Regions from separate parts of the Homo sapiens genome. Here regions 1, 2, 3, 4, 5 and 6 are each linked to region 7. Evidence: promoter capture Hi-C in human tissues and cell types (Jung and others, 2019). All regions are on one chromosome and are shown on one strand. The core of a region is centred on a gene start or on the middle of the fragment in contact, and the rest is flanking DNA. Distances in the headings are between cores, read along the strand shown. Region 1 overlaps TNRC6C (trinucleotide repeat containing adaptor 6C). Region 2 overlaps PGS1 (phosphatidylglycerophosphate synthase 1). Region 3 overlaps PGS1 (phosphatidylglycerophosphate synthase 1). Region 4 overlaps TNRC6C (trinucleotide repeat containing adaptor 6C). Region 5 overlaps TNRC6C (trinucleotide repeat containing adaptor 6C). Region 6 overlaps TNRC6C (trinucleotide repeat containing adaptor 6C). Region 7 holds the start of BIRC5 (baculoviral IAP repeat containing 5).

Region 1 (2,700 bases), core at 64-2,563, 180 kb before region 7:
CATCTATTTAGTTGCCAGCAGTTTACAATCAAACATGCTACTTTCCCAATATGGTCCTTGGGAAAATCTTAACAGAGACAAGGATTCTATAGTTAGACCTAAATAGCTTGGTGTTTTAATTTAAGGGTCTTATTTTGAAAAACTGAATAAGAAATGTAACAGCCCTGCCTGTTCTGGTTGTATCTGGTTGTGATGTGATTGGTTGACAGTATTGCATCAGTTTTCTCATCAAATGCTGCTGGTGCAGAATGTTACTGGTATCTTCTTAGATAAGTAGAAAATAAGCAATTAAGTCAATAAAATCTTGCTATGATATAATATTCCCTCATTAAATATTTATCTCTGTAAATATAACATTATCTAAGAAAATACTCCTAGTTCATAGTCCTTCTAAAATATATATTGTAGGCTGGGCACAGTGGCTCACGCCTGTAATCCCAGCACTTTGGGAAGCCAAGGTGGGCGGATCACCTGAGGTCGAGAGTTCGAGACCAGCCTGACCAACATGGAGAAACCCAGTCTGTACTAAAAATACAAAATTAGCTGGGCATGTTGGCACATGCCTGTAATCCCAGCTACTCGGGAGGCTGAGGCAGGAGAATCGCTTGAACCTGGGACGTGGAGGTTGCGGCGAGCCGAGATCACGCCATTGCACTCCAGCCTGGGTGACAAGAGTGAAACTCCGTTTCAAAAAAAAAAAGGTGTGTGAGTATATATATAAATATACATATAAACACACACACATATTGAAGAACATAAATCATTTTATGGATTGAAAACATCTCAAAAAATTGATCAATCTATGTAGTGAGCATAAAATAAGAAATTCATTCTTGACTCCCAAACAAAAATCTTCATTTTATACCAATTTCATCTCTTCCTCAGTAGTCTCTGGTATCACAGCCAGATGCATCTTTCTAACTCACCACCCTTCACTGACGAGGGGTCCCCTCACAAACCTGCCGTGGTCACCTAGTTACTAATGCACAAACTCTCCGTTTTTCTCTCTGGCTGTGAAGGCCCTTCATAGCCGAGTCTCCCCAACATTTTCCCCGCCTACTCTCCATGGCCTACTTTTTTCTTTTCTTTTGAGACTGAGTTTCTCTCTTGTTGCCCAGGCTGAAATGCGATGGCACAGTTTTGGCTCACCACAACCTCTGCCTCCCAGGTTCAAGTGATTCTCCTGCCTGCCTCAGCCTCCTGAGTAGCTGGGATTACAGGCGACCACCACCATGCCTGACTAATTTTGTATTTTTAGTAGAGAAGGCATTTCACCATGTTGGTCAGGATGGTCTCAAACTCCTGACCTCAGGTGATCCGCCTGCCTCAGCCTCCCAAAGTGCTGTGATTCCAGGCGTGAGCCACCACCCCCCAGCCTCCATGGCCTACTTTCTATTATGATTGGGATTGCTTTCTTACTGTCTCACAAGTGTGCCATGCTCACTGTCAAGTCCCTCCCATGCACACATGCTTAATTGCTGCCCCCCCAACCCCCACTTTACTTCCAGTTCATTGTCCCCCCGCACCCGTGAGGCTTCCCCAAGCAGCTCTGTCTCCATTCTGTTCTCACAGGTGTAATATGCCCACTTTGTAACATAACACCTTTGCACTTACTGTATACTGTATATCCTATATTTTTTGCTGATTAGGTCATAAGAGTCTTGCCTTTAAACTAAGTTGGAAATATCCTATGAAGAAAATGTTTGAGGTCGGGCGTGGTGGCTGATGCCTGTAATCCCAGCACTTTGAAGCCCTGGGCGGGTGAATTGCTTGAGCTCAGGAGTTCGAGGCCAGCCTGGGTGACACAGCAAAACCCCCTTTCTGCAAAAAGTACAAAAATTAGCCAGACATGGTGGCATGTGCCTGTGGTCCCAGCTACTCAAGAGGCTGAGGTGGGACAATCGCTTGAGTCTGGGAGGTGGAGGATGCAGTGAGCCAAGATCGAGTCACTGCATTCCAGCCTGGGCAACAGGAAAAAATAAATAACGTCTCTGAGCTTTCTATGACTAAGCAGAATGGGAAAATCTCTGAACCATAGGTGAGGACTTGGAAACTAGAACTTGTTATGCCACCAACTAGTCCTTCCATTTCTCATCTAAAATGAGAGGTTTGAACCTCTCATGATCTCTAAGGTCCTTTCCCTTAAATTTCTGACTCAGACACCATTCCAATGACTTTGTTTGATTTTGTCAGTGGAAGGACTTTCAGGAACACTGTCCCATGTTGTTACGGTGTTGGCACAGGGATTGTAGGTGAGCATCAGCAAGCATGGAGGCAGTATGGCAAAGTGGTCAAGAGACAGGCCCAATCCACTTTCCAGACCCACCACCTCCTGTGTGACCTTGACCAAATCACCTTCACTCCCTGTACTTTTGACTCATCTTTGAAATGAAGAGATTCCTAATTTTGAAGATGAGCTATTTATTTCATATGCAGCACAAGGTCTTGCTTATAGTAGGTGTTGAGTAATGCAGGTGATAGTTGTTAGTGTGAGACTGGTGAGACTTTGAAATATACAACAAATATGTACCCATCTTTGAAACACCATTGTGAAGCAGAGTGTTCACAAATCCCAGCTACCTGACAGGCTGAGGGAGAAGGATCGCTTGAGCCCAGGAATTCAAGACCAGCATGGACAACACAGCAAGACCTGTTTCAAAAAAATAGTCAAAATTTTTGACTGACTAAATTCTAAAACAG
Region 2 (2,700 bases), core at 77-2,576, 190 kb after region 7:
GCTGAGAGAAAGCCCTTGATTGCATCCTTGCTCTGGGACTGTACCAGTGGCAGCTGTCACTTAGTGGGACAGAGAGAACAAACAAACATGGGCGCTGATAAATAGCCCTGCATGGGCCGGGCGCAGTGGCTCACGCCTGTAATCCCACATTTTGGGAGGCTGAGGCAGAGGGATCACCTGACGTTAGAAGTTCAAGACCAGCCTGGACAACATGGTGAAGCCCCGTCTCTACTAAAAATACAAAAATTAGCTGGGTGTGGTGGCACACACCTGTAATCCCAGCTACTCGGGAGGCTGAGGCAGGAGGATCACTTGAACCTGGGAGGCGGAGGCTGCAGGGAGCCAAGATCATGCCACTGCACTCCAGCCTGGGCGACAGAATGAGATTGTCTCAAAAAAAAAAAAAGCCCTGTGTGGTTAGTTGACTTTCTGTGTCTGCATCTCCTCTTCTCAGCTACACTGTCGGCTCCTTGAGAGGAGGAGGCTGTGGGTCACTTTGCTGTGTCACCTTGGATCAACTCTGGCTTTGTCTTTTGCACGTGTTCATTGCTGAGTAGCTATTTGTTAACTGCATCTTGACCTGAGTTTGTCACCCCCCTGCTAGTTCACCTGAGACCTGGGTCACCAGGACACGCTGCTGCATACCCTTGCCTGAGTCCTCCTCACCTGCATCTTCCCTCCCTGTAGTGCAAACCTGAGTGACTCCTACTTCACCAACCGCCAGGACCGCTACGTGTTCCTGCAGGACTGTGCGGAGATTGCCGACTTCTTCACGGAGCTGGTGGACGCGGTGGGGGATGTGTCCCTGCAGCTGCAGGGGGACGACACGGTGCAGGTGGTGGATGGGATGGTGCATCCTTACAAAGGTAGGGGCTGCCGCTGACACCCTTCTATGGCTGTGGGTGGGGTGGAGTGAGGGCCCGGGAGAGCACAACTCTAGGTGGTTCTGCCACAGGCATAGGGGACTTGGGTGGCAAGGCTTCATTCTGCTTTTGTCCTTGAAGCCAGACAGATGTGACTCACTGACCATCAGTCATGCTCTGTGGGTGAGAGAGCCAGCCCAGAAAGGTGGGAGCTTGGGCTTGGGACTCCTACTCCTTGAGGCGGAGTCACTCAGGTTTGCACTACAGGGAGGGAAGACGCAGGTGAGGAGGACTCAGGCAAGGGTATGCAGCAGCGTGTCCTAGTGACCCAGGTCTCAGGTGAACTAGCAGGGGGGTGACAAACTCAGGTCAGGACGCAGTTAACAAATAGCTACTCAGCAATGAACACGTGTGCCTGGGCGAGTGACCCAGAAGCCTGCCCTGCATCACAGGAAGCAACCAGGCCAGCAGCTGTTCGCCTAGGGCCCATTTCCCCAAGCCTATCACCTGGGCCTGTGGCTCCCAGCTCCCTTGAGCTCTGTGGCCCCCTGCCTGGAAAATGAAGTGGAAGAGCTCTCAGCTCTGCCCACTGGAACCAGGCAGGTTCTGGCGTGAGTGTTCTGGGGCATTTGCATTCCTGTGATTCCTGCGGCTGTGGCTCCCCCATGGCCTTTAGAGAGCTGCTGCTGGATTTGCAGCAGTGTCTGAACTTGGGGAGGAGGAGCTGAAGTTGGAACTTGTTGGGAGAAGAGCTCTCTGCGTCTTGTGGACCTAGAATGGAAGCATTTCAGTGGGCCGTCTGGTGGAAGCCCTGTCCTTGTGTCAGGGGAGCCCTGGGCCTCAGACCCCGACCGTGATGGTGTGATGCTCTGCCTGCCGCCATGCACTGTTCCTACTGTTGTATTTTGAATTTCATCTGTAAAGAGCTTGTGGAGCTCTGTATCTCTCTTGCTGAGTGCCTACCTAGCATCCTCAGCTTTGCCTTTTGGCCCAGAAAGCCTAAAATATTTACCATCTGACCCTTAAAGAAAATGTGTGTGGATCCCTGGTCTAATGTAACGGGCCAGGCATGGATATGAGAGAAAACAGGCCATGCTTAGGCCAGGATGAGAGCCAGCACGCTCCGAGCAGGAGCGGGGAGACTCGAGCCCAGCTGTGCTTGGGAGAATGAGTCCACAGAGAGGCTCAGGGTGTGCGCAGGGCCCCCCGGTGCTCCTCCCTCCGGCAGCCCTGTCCAGCATGTGGCAGTGTGACTCCTTTCTCCCCTGGAGGGTGTTGGCATCAACAGGCTAGACTCCTGCATGGGATGGTCCTTCTCTTTGTTCTGTAGCCCAGCCCTGAAAGGCACTGAGTGTCTGTTCCTGCCCCCAGCTCAGACCATGCAAGCCAGCAAGGATGACCTGGGACAGCCCTCCTTCCCTGTTTCACTTCCCTGATCAGCCTTGCCAAAGCCTTGTTGTTTTATCAATCGTTTATCAGACAATCAACTTTGGACAGTTGATATTCTCCATTTTTGTATCATTTTCATTCTAGTAATTTCTATTCATATATATATATATATATATATATATATATACACACACACACACACATATGTATGTATATATTTTTGAGATGGAGTTTTTGCTCTCGTCACCCAGGCTGGAGTGTGGTGGCACGATCTCAGCTCACTGCAACCTCTGCCTCCGAGGTTCAAGTGATTCTCCAGCCTCAGCTGCCCGAGTAGCTGGGGTTACAGGCACACAACACCACACCTGGCTAATGTTTGTACTCTTGGTAGAGACAGGGTTTCACCATGTTGGTCAGGCTGGTCTCAAACTCCTGGCCTCAGGTGATC
Region 3 (2,868 bases), core at 308-2,807, 210 kb after region 7:
GTACCCACTCCACTAAGTCCCAAGGCGCCTGTGCTGGGGTCGGCAGTGGCAGCCTGTAGTCCCCTTCTGCTCTCCCTTCCCAGGGGGTCCTGAAGAAGCCCTGGGGCAAGGGCTCAGGGATGAGGGGGCAGAAAGGCAGATTGAGCCCCTCCAAGCTGAGCACACTGGTGCAGGAGATGTAGACGTGGGAGGAGGGGAGCACGTTTGCTCGTGAGAGTGGCTCTGGCTTGCTGCCCTGGCCGGCTGTAGTGCACAGGGTGGGGCGTCGGTAGAGCCAGACCGTGGGCTGCTGCCTGGACGCCTCGCTGACATCCCTGTGCTGCGGTTACAGAGCTGCGCCCTTCTAGACTCTGGAAGTTGAGTAACAGGACCTGCTCTGCCCACCCAGGAGGGGCCTGCCGCTTCACCAGAGGCACCAGTGGGGTCCCACAGTCACCTGAGGTACCCCTGGACTGTCTTGACGCCTAGAGGTCCGGGCAGGGGGTGGCTGCCATTAAAGGTGGGGTCTTTGCTGAGTGACCTTTTGTGTCCTGGATCCCTCAGGGCCTGGACTGCACTCCGGGTGGGGTCAGGCTCCCGAGGCCCCTGCTCTCTGGTTCTGGATGTTGTGGGTAGTTCTGTTGCTTTGGATGGCTGGGCCTTTGGATGGTGGCTTGTGGGGAAGGGACGGTGAGGAGTCAAAGATGAGCCAGGACCCATGTGGCCGGCACATGCGCTAGTGCCGGCATCTCATGTGTGCAGCGTGGGCTCCCTTAGTGCCTGGCACCTTAGTGCTCTGCTAAGTCTCATTGTTTAAAAATGTGTAGTTTATCTGCAGCTTTTCCTAGTTATTTTAATTACTTTTCATTTTATTTGAATAGTGTGTGCAAATGTAGAGAGTAAAACAATACTGCGGCCATTTCCTGCCCTCCCTTCCCCCAGGCAGCCACTCTTGGCTTGTTTCTTCTGATGTGCACACGTGTCCGTATTTCTAAATAACGTGCATATCCTGCTGTCTTCCCCCAAAATGTGTACTTAACCAAAACAGCACCAGTGTCACTCCTGAAACAAAAATTACCAAGAATGTCTTAGTATCATCAAATACCTAAATGGTGTTCACAATTCCACTTGCCTTAAAATTAATTTTTTCGATTATTTGACTTGAAGTCCAATTAAGGACTACACCTTGTGATTGTTTTTTCCCTAGCAATTTATTTTTTGAAGAATGAACTTTATTTTTATTGGATCTACTTAAAACATTTTTGTGTCACCTAGTAGCAGGGGATTTTGAATACATGTCATGTGTGTTTATAAAGCCAGCTCTCCATATCCCCCAGTGTCTCCAGGAGCTGCTTTTGTGACCTCACTGCCTGATCTCTTTATCATCTTCAGGTGCTTGACCCTTGCACAGAGAGAAGCTTCCTGGGCTACAGGGCATGGCAGCCTGTCCTTTCGGGGAGTGAGATTAGATTTAGTCCCTGCACTTTGCCTCTCTAGAAGCAGCTTCTCGCCTTTCCCTCCCGAGGGCTGGCAGGAGTCACTGTCACCCTTCATGGGGTCTGAAAGGTTGCATAGGCTCACCTGGTCTTAGACAAGGACAGTTGCAGCTTCCGCACCAGGCAGACCTGCAGTTTGAGTGGCTGGGGATAGGTGGAGCGGCGGCCTGGCCACAGTGCCCTGGACAGCAGCACATCACATCAGTTAACACTGTTTGCCTTCCAACTAGTTATTACGGTGTCCTGTGGGACAATTAGACTGGAGGAGCCAAAGGAATGTGCAGGGGCACTGGGTTTCTGTTTGGAGAGAGGCTCTCGGTAAACAGAGTTCGCATTCCTCCAGATTCTGTGGGACCAGAGTAAATATCATTATGCCACAGCCAGGCTTAAGCAATCTATCTGCAGTGCCGTTCCCGCAGCGCACACTGCTCCCTCTGTCTCTGCTGATGACCTTCGAGGCTGTCCTAGGCAGGTTCTCCCTGAGGAGCTCCCCACACCAAGCCTCCCTAACTCTGCAAAGCAGCCGGAGCAACAGAGAGCAGCGGGCGGCGGGCGGCGGCCGCCGCAGTCCTCCCGGCTTTCTAGGTGCGCGGGGCTGTCGTGTTCCAGTCCCTGTGTTCCCCGTCGCTGGAGTGCAGCTTAAGTGCGAATCATTTCTTGGAAAGTTTAGAGATAATTTTGTCAACTACCCACAATATGTATGTGTGGACTAGATTACTTTCTTATTTCAGGATCTAAAGGCAAAATGGAAAAACGTCACATTTTGTGGTTATTACCAGGGACTGAAGTGAGTTGCCCGGTGGCCCCTGGTGGCTTTAGCTCCCCTGGTCACCTGAAGGGCTGCAGTGACCCCTCCTGGCCAGCAGAGGTATTGGCCCAGCCAGGCTGGGGGAGGCTGAAACTGCTTCCCTTCTCTGCAGCCACAAAGGGCTGGATTCCTTGGGCGCCAGGAGGGGAGGATTTTTCTTTTCCCTCCGATAGCCCTACTGGGCGCTAAGATTGTTGTGAATCATTACCCTCAGAATTTGGACTTTCTAGATGCTTCTTAACCCATGATTTAGGTGAGTAAACTTGGAAAAATGTTTTTGCAAAACTTGATGATCAAGCTGAACGTAGAACGATATTCCTAATGGGTGTGTTTGCCTTTTTTCCCCCTTTTGAGACAGGGTCTCACTCTGTCACCCAGGCTGGAGTGAGTGGCATGATCATGCCTCGCTGCGTACTTGACCTCATGGGCTCAAGCGACCCTCCTGCCTCAGCCTCCTGAGTAGCTGGGACCACAGGCACATACAACATTCCCAGCTAATTTTTTGTATTTTTGATTGATAGAGATGGTTTTGCCACGTTGCCCAGGCTGGTCTTAAACTCCTGGGCTCAAGTAAGATTGCCGTCC
Region 4 (2,700 bases), core at 173-2,672, 160 kb before region 7:
GCCACATCAGGAATCCTTTATGGATCCTCAAGACAGTTTTAGCCTCCAGCTAACGCATCAGTGTCACTAAACCAGAGGTCAAAAATCAGTGGTCCGTGGGCTGCACCTAGTCCCACAAATGTGCCTTTTTGGCCCACATTTTTTCTGTGAATTGGCATTTTTTTAATGCAAATGTTTTATATTAAATTCCAGATTTCTGGCTTCCTTTGGAAACCTGAAAAGTCTGACATTGGATTCACATGGCAGCAGTCAGTCAGAGCCACTTGCCTTCATAAGGGCCTGTGCATTTTCTCCATACCATGTCACGTTGCCCCCCGACCCCTGACGGTTCCCAACACTGAGGCTTTTGATCAGTAGCCACTGAGCATCATCAAGCTTGCGCTGCTGTTCTTACGCTGGGCCTGTTTACGTTAACTGACTGGTTCCTTGGAGTACTTGAATTTGTGATTCCAATTGTTTACTAATATATGACTAATATTTCTAGGCCCTTACATTTTATAAAGTACTTGGGGGGATAAGGAGAAGCAGGAAGAAGGAAAATGAAGGGATTTGAAAAATAAGATTAGGTCGGGCGTGGTGGCTCATGCCTGTAATCCCAGTACTTTGGGAGGCCAAGGCGGGCAGATCATCTGAGGTCAGGAGTTCGAGACCAGCCTGACCAACAAGGTGAAACCCCATCTCTACTAAAAATACAAAATTAGCCGGGCATGGTGGCGCATGTCTCTAATCCCAGCTACTCAGGAGGTGAAGGCAGGAGAATCATTTGAACCCAGGAGGCGGAGGTTGCAGTGAGCTGAGATGGGGCCATTGCACTCCAGCCTGGGCGACAGAGCGAAACTCTGTCTCAAAAAAAAAAAAAGAAAGAAAGAAAAATAAGATTATTCCTAAGTAAGGAATAGTCTAGTGGGACAGGCTAGTAATATCAAATTTAATAGAGTTTAATTAGCATTATAGTAAAGGTATGCAGAAAGTGATCTGAGAGCCCCCACCTGTAATCCCAGCTACTTGGGAGGCTGAGGTGGAAGGATGGCTTGAGCCCAGGAGTTCAAAGCCTGCCTGGGCAACATAACGAGACCCCATTTCTTTAAACAAACAAACAAAAAAGCTCCAGGAACAGAATTAATACAGTCATGCATAGCTTAACAATGGTGATACATTCTAAGAAATGTGTCATCAGACAATTTCAGCATTGTGTTAACATTATAAAGTATAGTTACATAAACCTAGATGGCATAGCCTCCTGCTCACCTAGGCTATACGGTACAGCCTGTTGCTCCTAGGCTACAAACCTGCACAGCATATTACTGTACTGAATACTGTAGGCAGTTGTAGGACGATGGTAAGTATTTATATATCTAAACATGAAAAGGGGACATTAAAATATGGTATAAAATATTTAAAATGGTGCACCTGTATAGGGCACTTACCATGAGTGGAGCTTGCAGGACTGGAAGTGGCTGTGGGTGAGTCAGTGAGTTAGTGGTGAGTGAATGTGAAGGCTTGGGACACTACTGCACACTACTGCAGACTACGCACACCACTGCAGACTACTGCACACTACTGCAGACTACGCACACCACTGCAGACTACTGTACACTACTGGAGACTACTGCAGAGTACTGTGCACTACTATACACCACTGCAGACTACTGTAAACCACTGCAGACTACTGTATACTACTGCAGACTACTGCACGCCACTGCAGACTACTGTACACCACTGCAAAGTAGAGTTCACCACTGTATACCACTGCAGAGCACTGTACATCACTGTGGACTACTGCGCACCACTGCAGACTACTGTAGACTACTATACACCACTGCAGACTACTGTAGACTAGTATACACCACTGCAGACTACTGCACACCACTGCAGACTACTGTACGCTACTGGAGACTACTGCAGACTACTGTAGACTACTATACACCACTGCAGACTACTACAGACTACTGTACACTACTGGAGACTACTGTGGACTACTGTACACTACTATACATTACTGCAGACTACTGTACACTACTATACACCACTGCAGACTACTGTACGCTACCATACACCACTGCAGACTACTGTACACTACCATACACCACTGCAGACTACTGTACGCTACCATACACCACTGCGGACTACTGTATGCTACCATACACCACTGCGGACTACTGTACGCTACCATACACCACTGCGGACTACTGTACGCTACCATACACCACTGCGGACTACTGTACACCACTGCAAAGTAGAGTTCAGCACTGTACACCACTGCAGAGTACTGCGCACCACTGTAGACTGCTGTAGACTTGGTGAACACTGTACGCTTAGGCCACACTACATTTATTAAAAGATTAAAAGATACTTTCTTCAGTAACACTTAGCTTAAAACACACATTGTACAGCTTCACAAAAGTATTTTTTATATTCTTATTCTATGAGCTTTTTTTTTGTACCTTTTAAACTTTTTTGATAACTAAGACACAAACGCACACGTTAGCCTAGGCCTACACAGGGCCGGGATCTTCAGTATCACTGTTGTCCACCTCCACACGTTGTCCCATTGGAGATCCAATAACAGGAAGTACAGTAAAGACATAAACTGGTAACATAGTCTTGTATCAGCATCATCAGTTGTGTGTGCTAGACCTTGCTGTGACTGGCCGCACAGTAGGTTTGTTTACACGAGCATCACCACAAACACGTGGGGAA
Region 5 (2,889 bases), core at 114-2,613, 250 kb before region 7:
GAGAAGGCACAAGAAATGGAGAGGAGGAGACAGGAACAGATTTATAGACGTCCTTGGAGCTGGCAGAAGGATAGGTTGAGGGAGCAGGAGGCGGAGTCCTGAACAGACTGAGCGTGAAAGGGTCTATATAAGCTGGGAAGAACCAGGTAACTTTATGTTTGTTTTGTTTTTGTTATCTTCCGTTGAACTTGTTTTGGCTTCTTTCTCATAATTTTAAGACATGGGTTTTTACCTTTTCTCCAGCTCTATCTCAGAGGGTCTTCAAATATTTTAGGTGAGAAGTAAGGAAATATTTTGAAGTGTTGGTGACACAGTCTTTGGTCTCTCTTGCATGACAACTGGTCCCAGTGAAGGTGACTGGATTTTAGTTACTTTAGATAGTTAACATCTTAATATTTTGTTTGAAGATGTCATAGATTTGAGTAGGGACAGCAAAATATCAGGTGAGAAGTGGCTCCTATTTTGTAGGGGGTAGATTGTACAGGTTTTCTTGCTTTTACTCAGTCTATGGCTATCCAAATTTATACAAATGAGTTTTTAAATAATTGTGTGGTCACGAGGAGAGCATTCTTTATAAAATGATATACAATAAGCTTTCTTTAAATAGACTTTAATGCAGTGGAGTCCATTTATAAATTTTCAGCTTATACATAACTTTTTAGGAATATAATTACTTAAAAATGTAAAGGTTACTTGTCAGAAATAACTATATAACCTTGTGCAGAAAGTGTATATCTGAAATTGAAACTGAGAAATGTATAATCTTAGCCAGTGAACTTGTTTGAATAACCCGATTAAAATAATGGTACAGTTTCCTATTGTACAGATCGTGCATTTGAAATGTTAATTTATTTAATGAAAAGTAAATTATGTAATTTTAAAAAATCTCCACCTGGGATATATATAACAAGGTTTTACATGTTTAAAACATGCTGAAAATCCATATCGTTTGTTCCATTTTTGGAGTTTTACTAAAAATGAATTCTTTTCTTAGCTTTAGATGTTTTCAGAGAATGAAGAAGCTATTGCAGGAATGGAGAGCTGTTTGTTAAGAATGCATTCCTCCTCTGTAGCCTTCAAAAGACTATAGAGCTGTGTGCAGAGCTAGACAATCTGGGCATCCAGCCATAAAACATCACTGCTGTAGCACAGATAGTTGTTCGCACTCTCCTGAGCCCTCTGTGGCTGCAAACCACAACAGAAGTAATGGTCTTGGGAAAGGAACACTCAATGTTATTTTGAACTCTTAATATTCTCTGTGTCTCTCTGAGTTCCAGCTATGCATTGGAACTTTGGTTTTCTAAAATATAGTAGTGATTAAGGATGAGCAATAATATAGCTTCTTAAGTATATTCCTCTTGTAAGCCAGTGGATTTAAATGTTTGCTCTAGGAAATAAGGGGTGTCTAGGAAATAAGAGTTGTCTGTCCCACCATCTTCCTCTTTATTTGCCTCTTTGTTGCAATACTTCTTTTCTGTTGGAGAACCACTGCCCTAAGACCCATATGATCACTGGGCCACACACAGTGCACATGGCCCAAAGAGTCATCTGGAATCTTCCAGATATTTTGTGGGATGGATTGGTCTAATTTGGCCCAGTTTCCACTTTCTCATGAACCTTTTTGGCATAACAAATTTTTAATTTTTTTGCACAAAAATGAAGAAGAGTGTGACTGGCATCTATTTGTATAAATCCAAATGGTTTACTCTGAAGACCCTCTCTGTTTTTCTTCTTCAGACCATTTTAGAAATTAATACTCTATTGTATCTTTATAACTTCCTTCTCTGAAGGATTGAACTACAAACCTATAGTATCACAGTGTCAAGTTGAATTATTCTCAGCAGTTGGATAACTCTTGTCTGTGGTTGAGTCCTTTACTAATGTGCAGACTGTCTTTTGACGTGGCTAATACCAGATGCAAGTTGGTGCCCAGGTGGTTATTGGGAATATGTGCTTTGTTTGATTCATTTTATGTGTGCCTTCTAGCTTATTAAGAATAAGATCTCTCACAGCTAAAATCAAGTGCTTGGTTTGAGCCTGGCAAAGATATTGTTTACTTTTTTATTCCCAAAGATCATTTCTTTTTAATTACTCTTTTAGGAAGCAGGGAAAATCTCAGTGAAAATAGCAACTGGGAATTAAACTAAGATCTGAAACTGGGAAATGGCAACGCGGGCACAGGTGTCACCTTTCCAACTGTTGTTGAGATGATGTGGACAACGGTTATTCAGAAATTACAGTGGGGAGGAGGGAGATGCACAAGTATTTTTTCTCATACTCCATATGAAATATGAAGTGCAGAGTGAGGGGCCCAGAGTGTAGGGAGGGAATTTAATAGGCTTTGTTCTTCAGGGGGCTATGGCTGATGTCTTAAACAAGGTCTTTTTTGGTAGGGAGGCACAGTAAGGGAAGAAGGTGATGGATTTGTGGGAACAAGTACATTTGAGTCACTGAGGACAATTGGGAATTGTGAAGTGGGAGTGGACGAGGTTAGAAAGCATCCTTAGGTAACCAGATCTCCATTTAAAACTAATCTGAGCATTTACAATGTGATTATGTGCCAAGGACATGAGTTTATCTTATTTAATCCTCACAACACTCCTGTGAAGTGGTTGCTTTTAACATTCCCATTTTACAGATGAGCAAAGGGAGTAATTTCCACAAGATCCTATAGCTTATAGGAGATGAAGCCAGAATTTAAACTCAATACACTTCAAAGCCCTCACATATGGAAAAAGCTTGGATTATTTTAATAGCTGCTTAATGAGTCTCTTCCTCTGTTCTGTGTCCTGCTATCCAGCTGCCAATATTAACTGACTGCCTTCTGAGCACTTTGTGTGTATGATCTCATTCATTTCTCCTCAGCAGCTTATAAGTTAGGAGCTGTGA
Region 6 (2,700 bases), core at 57-2,556, 200 kb before region 7:
TCAGTCCTGGGAGAACACATTTGAGACATAATTCCACTTAAATCTTCTGTGTTTCATGAGATTTAGGATTTGCCATTTGTTCTGAGAGCTCATTTAGTTCAGGATGATTTAGCATGAAAAGAGATGTGGTCAAGAAGGAGTTAAGGGAACTGACAAGCTCTACACCCAGTGGACTTTCTTTGCCTTTAATGTTTTGTCCAGTGTGTTGCCTCACTTGGAGAGAGTTATGATCAATGTTACATATGAGAAGATTACAGGAGAGCCAGTAGGCATTAATGCTGTCTTGATTACTCAGCTTTAACATATGCTCTTAGCGGCATTTTCTAAATTGATCTTCTAAATAAGCCTGTTGTTTAAAAAGAACTTAGATGTGCTTGCATATATGATACATAGTACATTTTCTTACAGCAGGAATATCCAAGGGCCAAAACAAAGTAACCTTTTAATGAAATGATTCTTACTGTTTGTAGTCATTATTAAAATAATTTTGCTTTCTTTTAACATTCATGTTATCTAGTATGTGATGTATTGAGAGTGGCATTTGGTACCTTTTAGAGAGGTAACTGTAATATGCTAGAGTAGAAAATACCTCTGAACGGCATTTCTCATTAGCAACAGACACTAAGTTAATGTAGTTTGTAGTTAATGAGTCTGTGCTTGTTTTGAGTTGGGCTCCAAATGTTGCCACGGTGATAGATCAGCCAGAAGCATCCACTGAACAAACAGAAGGCACCACTTTGTATCCCTCCAGGACTGCTGATGAGCACAGCAGATGGACCCTCCGTACTCAGAGCTGTCTTCTGCTCGCATCTCATTGTTCTAAGGCAACTTCTCGCCACAATGTTTGCTGCTGTATAGGCTGCAGAAGAAATTGTAATAACAAAAATATTCCTTGGAATCACTGATTATGTTGGCACAAGAGAATAGTTCTCTTACATAGTCACATTTGCAAACAATCTTATATTTGAGTAAATTTAAAATGTTAAGAAACTCTGAATCTTTGAATATTTATTCTGAAATGACTAGAATTACTGCTTGATTTTTGACAATTTTTTTCATTGTGTGGGGTGTCCATGCATAAGAGAAGTTCTATGCTTTATCTTACAAAAGCTTGTTTCTTAAGTTCTGAGATGACATCAGTCATAGGACATATCATCTATTCAATAACGTCCTGTTGACAGAGGTGGAGCATGAATGAGGAAACCTTGTTGTATTTATACATCAATTGTAAGGGGCATCCAAATTTCAGAAAGAAGATGTGTTAAAATGTGTGGGTTAAAAATGTCCCTCCCAGTTAGCATTTTTACCTATAAAAAGTTAGTTTTAAAATATACTGCTCTCATCCATTTCACACCTACTTGTTATTATACTTTAGGCTAATGGTGGCAGCCCACGGGATTCTAATTGAGGATCCTTTTAACAGTAAATGCCATTACTGGGAAACAGTGGTATACCTAGCTCATACCACATACTGTGATGTTGTCTAGGTAGATGGAAGATTTAAATGTACTACTTGGGCCAGGCACAGTGGCTCAGCCTGTAATCCCAGCCACTTTGGGAGGCCGAGGTGGGCGGATCACCTGAGGTCAGGAGTTCCAGACCAGCCTGGCCAAGATGGCAGAACCGCATCTCTACTAAAAGTACAAAAATTAGCTGGGCGTGGTGGTGGGCGCCTGTGATCCCAGCTACTCGGGAGGCCAAGGCAGGAGAATTGCTGGAACCCAGGAAGCGGAGGTTGCAGTAAGCCGAGATCATGCCATTGCACTCCAGCCTGGGCAACAGAGCAAGACTCCATCTCAATAATAAATAAATAAAACTCCTTGCTAAAAAAGTCTATATGCTCTTAACCAGATTTCGGCTGAAGAATATAGAAACTACTCTAGCTGTTATAAGCAGAAATGGGTTTAAAATATGGAGGACTGGGTGCGTATAAAATCACTGAAAGGGCTGAAGGGGGTAAACTCTAGGCTGGGCCTTCAGAAATGACTCCCCAAAGAGTTCCCTGAAGAGCTGCTACCTCCAGGAATAATTGAGAGGCCCTATTGGCTCTCTTGACTTCTAGAGCACAGTGCCACTGCCGCAGACCAGGGGTCAGGAAGCGGCACTAACACTGTCTCTCTCAGCCACAAAAGGAGCGATTGGGAATGTGGCCCCTGCACAGAAACTGCCACCATCTCCAGTACTGTGCTTACAGGCACCCACAGCCAGTACCTGCCAGGTCACATGCACTCACATGTAACTGGGGGAACCAGATCCCTAGCCTCAGCTCTCCTTGCACGGAGGCTGCATAAGCTGTGTGCCAGGCTTGTCAGTCCTGCACCAGGTGTGCCTGTGGTGGTGGGTGGGAGAGACCATTTTAACTACTTGCTTTGTAAACATTTAAAATAATGGGATGGCTGTTCATTAACATTCATCTAGCGCCTAACACTTTCCAAACTGTTGGAGATATGGGAACCAAATTAAGGGGGGTGGTTTAGAACCAGAGTAAGATCTAATCCTCCATTCCTGAGTACAGCTGTCATTACCTCTTCTAAATTGCTGCAGTCTCTGCCTGCCTTCCCTTCTTTAGGTCATTCTCTGTGGTTCCTCCTTTAACATGATTATTTAACTTCTGTGGCTTCCATTGCTTCTGAGAGGAGGAGGATTATTATACTATAAACGCTTACTGTGTACTAAGTGCCAGTCACTGTTCTAAACCAT
Region 7 (2,700 bases), core at 44-2,543:
TGGTGAAACCCCATCTCTACTAAAAATACAAAAATTAGCCTGGTGTGGTGGTGCATGCCTTTAATCTCAGCTACTCGGGAGGCTGAGGCAGGAGAATCGCTTGAACCCGTGGCGGGGAGGAGGTTGCAGTGAGCTGAGATCATGCCACTGCACTCCAGCCTGGGCGATAGAGCGAGACTCAGTTTCAAATAAATAAATAAACATCAAAATAAAAAGTTACTGTATTAAAGAATGGGGGCGGGGTGGGAGGGGTGGGGAGAGGTTGCAAAAATAAATAAATAAATAAATAAACCCCAAAATGAAAAAGACAGTGGAGGCACCAGGCCTGCGTGGGGCTGGAGGGCTAATAAGGCCAGGCCTCTTATCTCTGGCCATAGAACCAGAGAAGTGAGTGGATGTGATGCCCAGCTCCAGAAGTGACTCCAGAACACCCTGTTCCAAAGCAGAGGACACACTGATTTTTTTTTTAATAGGCTGCAGGACTTACTGTTGGTGGGACGCCCTGCTTTGCGAAGGGAAAGGAGGAGTTTGCCCTGAGCACAGGCCCCCACCCTCCACTGGGCTTTCCCCAGCTCCCTTGTCTTCTTATCACGGTAGTGGCCCAGTCCCTGGCCCCTGACTCCAGAAGGTGGCCCTCCTGGAAACCCAGGTCGTGCAGTCAACGATGTACTCGCCGGGACAGCGATGTCTGCTGCACTCCATCCCTCCCCTGTTCATTTGTCCTTCATGCCCGTCTGGAGTAGATGCTTTTTGCAGAGGTGGCACCCTGTAAAGCTCTCCTGTCTGACTTTTTTTTTTTTTTTAGACTGAGTTTTGCTCTTGTTGCCTAGGCTGGAGTGCAATGGCACAATCTCAGCTCACTGCACCCTCTGCCTCCCGGGTTCAAGCGATTCTCCTGCCTCAGCCTCCCGAGTAGTTGGGATTACAGGCATGCACCACCACGCCCAGCTAATTTTTGTATTTTTAGTAGAGACAAGGTTTCACCGTGATGGCCAGGCTGGTCTTGAACTCCAGGACTCAAGTGATGCTCCTGCCTAGGCCTCTCAAAGTGTTGGGATTACAGGCGTGAGCCACTGCACCCGGCCTGCACGCGTTCTTTGAAAGCAGTCGAGGGGGCGCTAGGTGTGGGCAGGGACGAGCTGGCGCGGCGTCGCTGGGTGCACCGCGACCACGGGCAGAGCCACGCGGCGGGAGGACTACAACTCCCGGCACACCCCGCGCCGCCCCGCCTCTACTCCCAGAAGGCCGCGGGGGGTGGACCGCCTAAGAGGGCGTGCGCTCCCGACATGCCCCGCGGCGCGCCATTAACCGCCAGATTTGAATCGCGGGACCCGTTGGCAGAGGTGGCGGCGGCGGCATGGGTGCCCCGACGTTGCCCCCTGCCTGGCAGCCCTTTCTCAAGGACCACCGCATCTCTACATTCAAGAACTGGCCCTTCTTGGAGGGCTGCGCCTGCACCCCGGAGCGGGTGAGACTGCCCGGCCTCCTGGGGTCCCCCACGCCCGCCTTGCCCTGTCCCTAGCGAGGCCACTGTGACTGGGCCTCGGGGGTACAAGCCGCCCTCCCCTCCCCGTCCTGTCCCCAGCGAGGCCACTGTGGCTGGGCCCCTTGGGTCCAGGCCGGCCTCCCCTCCCTGCTTTGTCCCCATCGAGGCCTTTGTGGCTGGGCCTCGGGGTTCCGGGCTGCCACGTCCACTCACGAGCTGTGCTGTCCCTTGCAGATGGCCGAGGCTGGCTTCATCCACTGCCCCACTGAGAACGAGCCAGACTTGGCCCAGTGTTTCTTCTGCTTCAAGGAGCTGGAAGGCTGGGAGCCAGATGACGACCCCATGTAAGTCTTCTCTGGCCAGCCTCGATGGGCTTTGTTTTGAACTGAGTTGTCAAAAGATTTGAGTTGCAAAGACACTTAGTATGGGAGGGTTGCTTTCCACCCTCATTGCTTCTTAAACAGCTGTTGTGAACGGATACCTCTCTATATGCTGGTGCCTTGGTGATGCTTACAACCTAATTAAATCTCATTTGACCAAAATGCCTTGGGGTGGACGTAAGATGCCTGATGCCTTTCATGTTCAACAGAATACATCAGCAGACCCTGTTGTTGTGAACTCCCAGGAACGTCCAAGTGCTTTTTTTGAGATTTTTTAAAAAACAGTTTAATTGAAATATAACCTACACAGCACAAAAATTACCCTTTGAAAGTGTGCACTTCACACTTTCGGAGGCTGAGGCGGGCGGATCACCTGAGGTCAGGAGTTCAAGACCTGCCTGGCCAACTTGGCGAAACCCCGTCTCTACTAAAAATACAAAAATTAGCCGGGCATGGTAGCGCACGCCCGTAATCCCAGCTACTCGGGAGGCTAAGGCAGGAGAATCGCTTGAACCTGGGAGGCGGAGGTTGCAGTGAGCCGAGATTGTGCCAATGCACTCCAGCCTCGGCGACAGAGCGAGACTCCGTCATAAAAATAAAAAATTGAAAAAAAAAAAAGAAAGAAAGCATATACTTCAGTGTTGTTCTGGATTTTTTTCTTCAAGATGCCTAGTTAATGACAATGAAATTCTGTACTCGGATGGTATCTGTCTTTCCACACTGTAATGCCATATTCTTTTCTCACCTTTTTTTCTGTCGGATTCAGTTGCTTCCACAGCTTTAATTTTTTTCCCCTGGAGAATCACCCCAGTTGTTTTTCTTTTTGGCCAGAAG

What was found. Contacts are between HindIII fragments. The study calls those that stand out against the background at their distance.
Region 1: a contact is called between a fragment that was not itself captured here and the fragment with the promoter of BIRC5 in region 7, in 1 of the 25 tissues and cell types used here (lymphoblastoid cells).
Region 2: a contact is called between a fragment that was not itself captured here and the fragment with the promoter of BIRC5 in region 7, in 2 of the 25 tissues and cell types used here (dorsolateral prefrontal cortex and spleen).
Region 3: a contact is called between a fragment that was not itself captured here and the fragment with the promoter of BIRC5 in region 7, in 2 of the 25 tissues and cell types used here (dorsolateral prefrontal cortex and lymphoblastoid cells).
Region 4: a contact is called between a fragment that was not itself captured here and the fragment with the promoter of BIRC5 in region 7, in 1 of the 25 tissues and cell types used here (lymphoblastoid cells).
Region 5: a fragment that was not itself captured here is called in contact with the fragment with the promoter of BIRC5 in region 7 in 1 of the 25 tissues and cell types used here (dorsolateral prefrontal cortex).
Region 6: a fragment that was not itself captured here is called in contact with the fragment with the promoter of BIRC5 in region 7 in 2 of the 25 tissues and cell types used here (lymphoblastoid cells and mesenchymal stem cells).

What each region holds. Positions count from the first base shown.
Region 1 is chr17:78,032,981-78,035,680 of GRCh38, forward strand. All of the region lies in intron 4 of TNRC6C (trinucleotide repeat containing adaptor 6C), which reads left to right. Among named protein-coding and RNA genes, the nearest start is that of TNRC6C, 76 kb to the left of the region's middle. The HindIII fragment of the contact is 3,255 bases long and covers 1-2,700 here.
Region 2 is chr17:78,399,990-78,402,689 of GRCh38, forward strand. PGS1 (phosphatidylglycerophosphate synthase 1) reads left to right here. Exons shown (of 10, transcript NM_024419.5): 6 at 688-866. It overlaps LOC124900399 (small nucleolar RNA SNORA30/SNORA37 family), which reads left to right; the gene lies at 1-74. Among named protein-coding and RNA genes, the nearest start is that of PGS1, 23 kb to the left of the region's middle. RefSeq lists an enhancer at 539-1,044. The HindIII fragment of the contact is 6,850 bases long and covers 1-2,700 here.
Region 3 is chr17:78,419,883-78,422,750 of GRCh38, forward strand. The region is part of intron 9 of PGS1 (phosphatidylglycerophosphate synthase 1); the gene reads left to right. Among named protein-coding and RNA genes, the nearest start is that of PGS1, 43 kb to the left of the region's middle. RefSeq lists enhancers at 1-394, 2,668-2,868. The HindIII fragment of the contact is 3,716 bases long and covers 1-2,868 here.
Region 4 is chr17:78,052,783-78,055,482 of GRCh38, forward strand. All of the region lies in intron 5 of TNRC6C (trinucleotide repeat containing adaptor 6C), which reads left to right. Among named protein-coding and RNA genes, the nearest start is that of TMC6, 75 kb to the right of the region's middle. The HindIII fragment of the contact is 3,753 bases long and covers 1-2,700 here.
Region 5 is chr17:77,962,513-77,965,401 of GRCh38, forward strand. The region is part of intron 1 of TNRC6C (trinucleotide repeat containing adaptor 6C); the gene reads left to right. Among named protein-coding and RNA genes, the nearest start is that of TNRC6C, 5.3 kb to the left of the region's middle. The HindIII fragment of the contact is 3,556 bases long and covers 1-2,889 here.
Region 6 is chr17:78,014,114-78,016,813 of GRCh38, forward strand. All of the region lies in intron 3 of TNRC6C (trinucleotide repeat containing adaptor 6C), which reads left to right. Among named protein-coding and RNA genes, the nearest start is that of TNRC6C, 57 kb to the left of the region's middle. The HindIII fragment of the contact is 3,984 bases long and covers 1-2,700 here.
Region 7 is chr17:78,212,960-78,215,659 of GRCh38, forward strand. BIRC5 (baculoviral IAP repeat containing 5) reads left to right here and starts at 1,294. Exons shown (of 4, transcript NM_001168.3): 1 at 1,294-1,468; 2 at 1,721-1,830. The coding sequence starts at 1,358. RefSeq lists an enhancer at 1,039-1,940. The HindIII fragment of the contact is 20,243 bases long and covers 1-2,700 here.